2 separate regions of the Homo sapiens genome follow, and region 1 is linked to region 2. Evidence: promoter capture Hi-C in 16 types of primary human blood cells and fetal thymus (Javierre and others, 2016). All regions are on one chromosome and are shown on one strand. The core of a region is centred on a gene start or on the middle of the fragment in contact, and the rest is flanking DNA. Distances in the headings are between cores, read along the strand shown.

Evidence for each region. Contacts are between HindIII fragments. The CHiCAGO score rates a contact against its expected background, and 5 or more counts as called.
Region 1: a fragment that was not itself captured here is called in contact with the fragment with the promoter of CHM in region 2 in 1 of 17 cell types (non-activated CD4 T cells); the score reaches 5.9 in non-activated CD4 T cells.

What each region holds. Positions count from the first base shown.
Region 1 is chrX:85,879,859-85,885,153 of GRCh38, forward strand. The region is part of intron 12 of CHM (CHM Rab escort protein); the gene reads right to left. Among named protein-coding and RNA genes, the nearest start is that of MIR361, 21 kb to the right of the region's middle. The HindIII fragment of the contact is 886 bases long and covers 1,184-2,069 here.
Region 2 is chrX:86,046,112-86,050,645 of GRCh38, forward strand. CHM (CHM Rab escort protein) reads right to left here and starts at 1,447. Exons shown (of 15, transcript NM_000390.4): 1 at 1,373-1,447. The coding sequence starts at 1,421. The HindIII fragment of the contact is 19,030 bases long and covers 1-4,534 here.

The DNA.
Region 1 (5,295 bases), core at 377-2,876, 170 kb before region 2:
CCAGTACCGAGAAATTCCTCCCCCCACTATATTAGTAGGGGGAGAAAGATACACCCACTTCTCTTCCAATAGTTTATTTCAGACTACTAGAATTTTTTTTTTAAACTCCAGGAAGATAGTTCAAATTTTATCATGAAAGCCAACATCAGAATAAGATTCTCATTATCAAAATTTATTCTACATTCAACTACTTTAAAATATATCTAAGCATAAATTGAGGGACTCTAATAACCATGGAACTAAAATCAAATGTTGTAGGTTTTTCCCTCCCAGGTCCACTAAAGGAAGTATATTTTCGGATGGTTCCTGAATTACTTATGGCCTAATAATAGGTCTACCTTATTTAAGCATTGTTTTCACATGAATTTAACAATGATTCTCATTGGTTCTGGGATACTGTAGGATGTATGGTACTAATTATTTCCAAAGATATAATGAGCTTCATAACAAAAATTATTTTGGTTAACTTTTTTCAAATGCTGTATAGCATTAGTTGGGATGAGACTTAATCCTCCTAGATAATTACTGAAGTAAACAGGGTATGCAGTTACAAAGGTCAGCAATCCATAGGAGATAATCTATCCTGTCTCTTATTTCAAAATCTCGTGAAATACCAATGCCCAAAGTTCTCAATTTTCCAGTTTTTTGCTTGTTTGTTAATGTTTATTTGGGAAAAAGCAGATGAACCTGGACATAAATAAGTATATTTTGGAAAATATCTTAATGGGTAAACTATTGGTTCTGTTAAACAGGACATATATTTTAAAGAGATACACTTAAGTTAGTATATCATTATATTTCTTAGCAACATAACAGACAGTTCAGGTTATGCTAGGAAAAATGTCTAGTAGTGAAGTAAGATTATCATCTCATGATTAATGAGTTTTATAACAATTCTTACAAAGACATTCATAAGCTGAATTATAATCCCTATACATTGACTTTGCTTAGAGGCTACATTGTTAATTGATCTATTAATACAAATTTAAGGTATGAATAACTACTTTTTCCCCTTACCGTTCCTGCTTTTCCTGTTACCTAGGTCACCTTCTAGTATAGATTACTGAATTCATTTTGGTTCTCTTCAAATCAGAGATTGCTGATTGTGCTCTTTTTAAAATTCATTGATTCTCAACATTTGTTTATTAATCTTAATATATCTTGTAAGTCCTTTGCAGGGGCAAGCTTTAGAGTCGATTTTTCTCCTTTTTGTTAAATACAACTTTTACTTAGAGTGGGTATTCAATAAATGTTAATTATAATTTGTCTCACTGTCACGGACAAACATCAAGTATTCCTGTGTTTAAATAGATATGCATTCCCATACCAATAGATCTATGTGTACATATTCATGGGGAAATTCTGATTAGTTTCTTGTATAAAATTTGGGAAATTATCTGATTTACCAGGAAAGAGGAAAGGGAAGTACCAATTGATAATCTCAAATTATTTAAATCTGTCTGAGAAATGCTTATAAACACATTAAGATATATCTATAAAATTCTCAAAATACATTTAAGAGAATATCTAGAGTTGACTGTACAAATAACATGCATGTGTTAGACACTATTTTAAGCATGCTACAAGTATCATTTCACTTTACTTGTGCAACAGCAAACTGTTATTCTCATTTTACAGATGAGAAAACAGGGATGGGGGGCTATGCAGATTTCCTAAAGTCATGCAATTAGTAGAAGGAAGGGCTGGGACTCAGAGCTCGAATTGAAGCCCATATGGCCTGCCTGCAGAGTGTCTGCCTTTAGTCACTAAATTATATTATGTGATTCTAATAATCTCCTGCAGAAGGCACAGTCAGTCACTTAAGTCAGCAGCATTCAAACTGGGATGTGTGTGAGGATACAAGAGGACTTTTCACAAGTTATATCACCTACAAGGGGGTTCTCATACAGATGCTCAGCTCCACCTCTCCTACTTCATTCAGTGAAATTTTACTTATTCTGTTTAATATTTATTTACCAAAACTGTAATATATTTATGACAGTTAGATTAATTCTGTAGAAATAATAATTGCATTAATTACTAAATCCAGAAGAAAGTTTTAGATTAGAAGCTTATTGCCCTAGAAAGTTTCAAAAAAATTCTATTTCCATTTATTTTTTTAAATGGGTGATGGGTATCAAATATCCCTGATACTTAGATTCCACTGAATACATTTAAATGACTGATGTTATAATTTTACTATAAGTCAATATTTACGATGTTAGAAATTATATTCTTTGCAATTATTTGACTCTTCTGATGAAAAACTGTGTATGTCAACTTGTAAAGGGTTCAAGGGATAAATGAGCAAAAAGTCTGAAGACCTTAAGGGTATAAGGTAAACTCAAAACCAAACATGTAGAACATGCTATCACATTTCTACTGAAATTCAATTATGTAAAATACTTCTTTGCATCTATGTGACTTTAATTCTTCTCCAAATAATGAACTTGCTCAATACAGGCCAACAACGACCACAAATTAGATCATACAGGGTAAATGCTTTCCTAAAAGTATTACGTTTCATTAGTACCAATTGACAACTATCACTAAGATTGTGGAAGATGCAATACAAGTGGAAACATTTCCCACAGGCACCATGTGAGATAACTGAACAAAAAAAAAATTAATATCTTTTTATAAACTATGCTCCTTTGACTTCATTTAGCAACTGCTTAAAGGCTTAATGAGCTAAAAATGGCCAAAGACTTAATGAAAAAATGTGTTTTCTATCACAATCCCTCTTTTGGCAATACACTTAGATTTGTATTGGCATTAAAGAAATCTTAGTGCAAAATAAGTTTTAATTTAGAAGTGAGAAGTAACAACACAAAACTAGAAATAACAACACACTTTCAGTTCTCCAAAACTGCCTTTGGAATGCTGATCGCTCTTACGAGTTGTTTTGAAACACATGAGAAGTAGGATTTCTGCTCAGAATGTGCACAATAATGAGCACATTTAAAAGTAACAAGTCCAATGTACAGTAGCAGAGTGACATACTATAGGATGATTACGTGGGTCTGGTATTACGTCAGCTCTCTATATCTACTTGGCCAAGTCAGTTTTTCTCTCTGGCTTCAGTGTCCTCATAATTAAAATGAAGGGGTGCAATTAGTCCATCTTTAAGACCTCTTCCGGTCTCAAATTTACGAAGCTAATTCCTTACTCACCAGCTACAATTCTTTCAATGATGACAGATTTTAAATCAAAACGGATGGCATTACAAATGTGAATGTAAAACCTAAGTAAATGCTTGCTGTAAAAGGTAGGAAATCTATTCCTCAAGCTTCTGAGGTTACCACATACAGCAGTCATTCACTCTATACAAGCAGGCAAAATTGTTCCAAATGCATTTAAAGAATCTTTATTTATAGGCTAGTCAGCAAGTAGGCTTTGTTGTGTAACCTAACTAGAAATATGTAATTAATTTACATAGAGATCAATGTGGCTGGTAACATATCTTTCATATAACTATAAAGGCCACATGTACTTTATGTAATATAGCACAAATGAGGATATGACTGTATCAATAAAACAGAGAACCTCAGAGACACACTTTCTCTATGGTAGCAAGTAAGGAACTGAGTTTGATGATATATGACACACAATTTAATTTTTTAATTCAACTATGAAAAAGTCTATAGTCGGCTTATACTTTCTCAGTAGAATTTAAGAACTCCAGAACATCACCTTAAGATCAGGAAGAAAAATTAGTTTACATATAATAAAATCAAATCTTTGTTTTGTGATAATACTAACAATAATAATTTGAAATGTCACATTTTCAAAAAGCAAATGAAAAAGGCACTGATAATTGTTTTAAATCAATATCTAACTCATTTTTATAAAAGGTATATAGCATTTTAAAACTAGGGTCACAAAAGCAGAAAAAGTATATAAACCAGTACCTACATGAAATTCTGGATTATTACATACATCATATATATATTTCACATTATATATTCACAAATATATAATCATATCACAGATAACTAACATCCTGTAACATCAAATCCCAGAATAAAACAGCTGTTATTGCCTGATTAGTATGTACGAAAAAAATTCAAAATGTCTAGTGTATGAGTAAGTACTGCAAAGAACATGAAAATGAATGTCGAATGGAAGGGCTGCAAAGATAATGTTTTGTTCATTTACAAATGACTTTAAAAGAAAGTAAATCTCATATTAAATTCACTTAGGATATAAGATGAATAGAAATAAATATATTGGGTATGTCCTGAAAGATGAACTCTGTGAAAAAAAATATGGCTTGTTTAGCTTTGAAAAACACAATAAACAAATACATTTCAGTTATTTAACAATCCCAGTAACTTGAACCAAATTAGCTGAGGGGAGGAAAATTTAAGTGGACTTATAGATTTTACAAAACATAACTTTACTACTTTAAAAAAAGATGCAATAACGATGCTAACCCAAAGTTGCTTAGAAAAACCCCTGCATTACTGGATAATCATGATTTCCTATCAGTCTATCAAAATATCAGCTTAAGTAACATTGATACTAATAACGGTCCTGAGGCAGATAGTATCATTATTCCTATTTCACAGATAGGAAAGCTGAGGCACATAGAAATTAAGTAACTTGCCTAAGGTTAGTCAAGTAGTTAGTAAAAACTGGGATTTGAACTTAGCCTATGTTCTCCACCACTATAAGGTAGTATGTTAATGAAATGTACCTCCCTTGTTTATTGAACTATTTATTTGCCTTTCAAGAACCTTTCATATATACTATTCCCATATGATGTGAAGGTAAACTTCAGTGGCATACGTATGATTTTACAAATTCTAAATCAAACCAAATTTAAGGCAATGTGACATCTATGAAAAGTCATTAAAGAGAATAAAAAGTATAAGTGAACTCTGAGGTAGTTTTATGTCTTAAGCACATTCTTGAGCACACACTTAAGACTACATACAGTACAGTATTTGCATAGCACAGGATTAAAAATAAAAAGTGTAAAAAGTGTGATTTGTATAAAGAAAAAAGTGGTTGAGAAGTTGAAAACACTGAGAATTATACATTTTATCTTATTACATGACATCTAAAACATTAAGATTTAATGTTTTATATATTATACGCCACTGTGACACAGTAATTAAATAATATTTAATATAAAGTGCCACAATATTAGTCAAACCTGATTAGTCAACACTAAAAATTCACAAATTTCTACCCCATGCTCAATGGGAAGTAAAAGCTTGTGCTGATTTAAGAATGGACGAATTTGAGTAGTAGATACTGAAGAGAAGTAAAGATAAAATGAGTATCAGA
Region 2 (4,534 bases), core at 197-2,696:
AAACAAGGAAACTGAGGCTCAGAGAGATTTAGTGCCTGGCCCTCCCAATTCAAGCAATTCATACTAGCACTAAGCAAGACCTAAAACCAAGTTTTCTCAATTGTTTCTACGAATATGGGTCAACTCTGAGGATCAGAACCACTGACTGTTTTCCTGGGATGGAATGGGCCTTTGGAAATTTACCAGCTGTGTGATCCTGAGCAAATTACAACTTTTCCAAGTCCCCTTTTCCTCTTCTACAAAATGCAGAGAGTACCTACTACTCTAACAAGGTTGTGAGGATTATGTTCGGCTTGTAAAGTGCTTAGCACAGTGATTAGGAAATTTTAAGCATTCGAAAACAGGTAGCTATTATTTTTACTCCCAACCTGAAAACATGGCTGCTCCTAATCATGGCTGTATGAGAAGACAACGAACTGAATTCATTAACACAATGGACAGGGTCCCATCCACCAGAGCTTCTCTGGCCTACCACATTCTACAAACAGTAAAAAACCCCATCAAACAACCTATTTCATTCCATCTAAAATGATCATCCCTTACACTATTAAAAAAAATTGAAATTGCTGCCATATGTGTTCTGCTACGTGTTGTACACTGAATATGTCAACTAGAAACTGCAGAGGAGTTTCTGGTTCCACCCAAAACATGAAGAACAAACGACGGGAAAACAAGAGTTAGATAAGGTCACACACCTGAACTGGAACTCAGGACCTTATTCTCAGCACATTTAGTTATTGATGGTAGAAAGCAAGATGCTTTAAGCACCATAAAGCAGGAATAATGGCTACCTCAACAAAATAAAATTCCCTAGGTTTCTCAACAAAATAGAATCCGTTTACTTTCCCTAGTAAATTCATACGCACATGGGCAATAATTGAGCATCTTTCTTGTAAAACTGAGGATTAAGCTGTGTCTGAGCTGCGATGTATGCTAAGATCATACAAATCTATGAAAAAGTCCTATGAAATGGCGAGACAAAATGATGGGGAATATCACCTTGAAATCAATAAGGAAGGAATCATAATGTCTTGCCAAAGTCGTCTCCGTTGATAAAATCCCGACCCTCCATTTCATGACACTGCACATCCACTTCCCTCTAAGGAAATTAACAGGAATCACCGCAGCAACCAACCTCAGCAATCAGCATCGACCAGATCAACCCCTACTCAAATGGCGATAAGCACTGCGGGTCCCAGCCCCTCCCTGTAACTGCCAACTCCCGCGCTGACTCCGGACTACCTCACTTCCTTTCAGTTCTCCCTCCCACTCTCGACCCACGATGTTTGTCCCAAAACTCGCCACTGACAGAAAAAACAGAAACAAGACAGTCTTCCTAAACTTTGTCCAGGAAGCACCAGGCTACACATACCCGTCCCTATTACGATCACATCAAACTCCGAAGGGAGAGTATCCGCCATCTTGACGGGAAACGTGTCATGTGACTATTACTTGTGGAAATGAGATCAAGTTAGGCATTCCCTCCGTGGAAGGCGGAAAAGAAAACAGTGCATTCTGGGTGTTGTAGTTCTTGGGTGGAAGGTCCAGGCAGGCGACTACAGTATTATATTTAAAATGTTTACACGTAAGTTAAAAGCTCGACTCATTTTCCAGGCTGAATGCTGTAGCTCATTTAGCCTGGAGGGTTGAAGTAGGAAAGAAATGTAGATTTTTATTCCGTTAGCTAGGATGAATGTGGGAGACTTGGATACCCCTTGACAATACTGAAGCAAAATTGTTAGGAGACACGGAGAGCGGAGTGAAATTGAAGGCGGTTTGCTCTGTGAACAAAGGAGACTTTCATTCCAGCCTAAAAAACTGTTTCCCGCCATCGTTTCTGTACTTTCGTGTTGGCCCTCGAGGCATGGTTTTTCACACCAATACTTTCAGAATATATTCCATATCTTTTTCGTTTCCATGTCTCCTCGATGAAAACCCACAAAAAACCTCTCACCCTAGTTTCGCCAGAATGGAACTCCCACCGCGTCCGTATTTGTTCCAGTTAGTCCAGACAGCCACTCGGGCAATAAATTAGCCTTGCTTTACAGGAGGGAAAAAATATATGAAAGCATGGTTGCGCTGGATAAGCGTCTGTTGAGTCTGAATTCGATTTTCCGCACCAACTAGATAAGTTCATGTAAGATTCTCCTTAGTTTACATTTAGTTTCCAATCTATTAGTTTCCATAAGCTACCGTAGAAATAATTAAGGTAAAATGGTCTTTATATTAAAGTGATTGTATCTGATGAGGGGCTTTAGGTCGTCTATGTCTAACAGCTAACATAGCTCTCATAAGTATCTTCAAGGTCTGTCGCCTCCCACCGCTTCCCTCCAACCGCCCCCCACCCTGCCCCCGATTATTTAATACTCCGCTGTCTGACAACACCAAAGCAAAAGGGGAAGGATGCTGGGAATGAAGGAGGATACTTTTTTGACGACAGAAATTTCTTGTGTAGTTATTTTACAAGAGTTTCAAAATAAATCAAAGATAATGTGCAGTAGTGGGCCTTCCCTGACACCACCTATCCGCTAAGATGCTTGTGGTTCCCCAGACATTGTTTTCTTTCCAGTCTCTGACCACGCTCATGCTGTTCTTTCAGCATGGAATGATCTTCCCATTCTCTAGCTAACAGTTATTCCCAGGATGTCGCTGGGCTTCCACCTCCTCCTCCTTTCGTCTCCGTGTGTGGGCTGTTTCCCTACATGGTGCTAGACTTTGTCTTAACCCGCCATACTGCATTTATGACGATTCCTATAGAGTACACATATCCCCATATATCCACACAAAAATACACACCCAGACATGCAATACCATAATTATAAACCCCTGTACAGCATGACAGACACCAAGTCTCATTTATCTTTTTCACTCCTGCACCTAACCTAAGCCCGGTGCATAGTAGGAATTTAATAAATGTTTGCTAAACCAAACTTGATTTTGACTCCCCTAATAGATGGATGAGACGAGTCCCTGTCCTCATAGTGCTTACCATCTTTGCCTTTATATCTGCCCACCACTATCATGTGTCTTATATTTAGAAGATGTTCAGTGTCCATTAATTGTAAATATTTACATGAAAATGCTTTAAAATGTATTTTGATACGCTTTTTACTGCATTTCTCTTGCATTTTACCATAATCATTAGCAACATTGTACATGTTTCATTACTTTCTTTTATAGATCATCCAGTTGTATTACACAACTCTCTTAAGATATGGTCTTTGATTAGTATTTTCTGTAAAACAGATTCCCCTGAGAAGTATAATGTACTGTTCAGTAAACCACTTTGTCATTTGCCTTGGTATGTAAAGCAAGTTTTTAGTATTATCAGAAGTGAAACAGATATTATTTGTGAGACTCTTGATAAGACAGTAGAAAATGGAAACAAATGGATTTCTCAGAGTAAACACAGAAAACTTTCCAAAATCTTCTCTAATAATGAGAAGCCACAGATGGATGGTTAAAAACCTGATAAATAAAAGTATTTCTACCATACTTTGGATATATATTTATATACATTTGTTCATGTATACGAGATATATAAACTACATACATATACTTTTCAATATGAGTATCACTGACCTTCTAGGGATTCAGAAATTTTCTGACAATCACACCATGAAGATGCAATTCATTAATTTGTTTATTCCTCAAATATTCATTCAGCACCTACTATGTGCAAGACACTATTTTGGATGCTGAGATTAGAGCAATGAACAAAACAGACAACAACCCCTGTCTTCATGAAGTTTACATTTAGTAGGGTAAAACAAAATAAACAAGTAATTACTCTGTAGCATAGATTTTCCAATCTGTGCTGCCCTTAGTTTGAAACCTTCTTTTTTTCCCCTAAGGATAGAAAGCACAATCCTCAGAAGGATAATATTACCAACTTATATTTTGCTGTTCTTTCTCTAAAGTTATTATGGGACTTATTCATGCCCTTTTCTGGGCATGGAAAAGATTACTACATTAGGAAAATTTCAATCTTGTGCATGGAGAAAATGCTCCAAATACCTTTTATTTCAAATGTATTTTTGTAGACTTTATGCAAAGTAAAGATGAATATAGGAGTTAATAATTGCAGTAAAAAAAGCGTAAAGCAAAACAGCTGAATTGCATCTATTCTGTTATTCTAAGGACATCTTTTTTTTTTTTTTTTTTTTTTTTTGAGACGGAGTCTCTCTCTGTCGCCCAGGCTGGAGTGCAGTGGCGCCATCTCCGCTCACTGCAAGCTCCGCCTCCCGGGTTCACGCCATTCTCCTGCCTCAGCCTCCCGAGTTGCGGGGACTACAGGCGCCCGCCACCACACACGGCTAATTTTTTGTATTTTTAGTAGAGACGGGGTTTCACCATGTTAGCCAAGATGGTCTCCATCTCCTGACCTCGTGATCCGCCCGCCTTGACCTCCCAAAGTGCTGGGATTACAGGCGTGAGCCACCCCACTGGGCCAAAGACTATGTACATTGGAGATAGTCATCTTGCATAATATGTCTCAGAGATTCTCTGAATTTCTTGAATTTGCATGTCGACC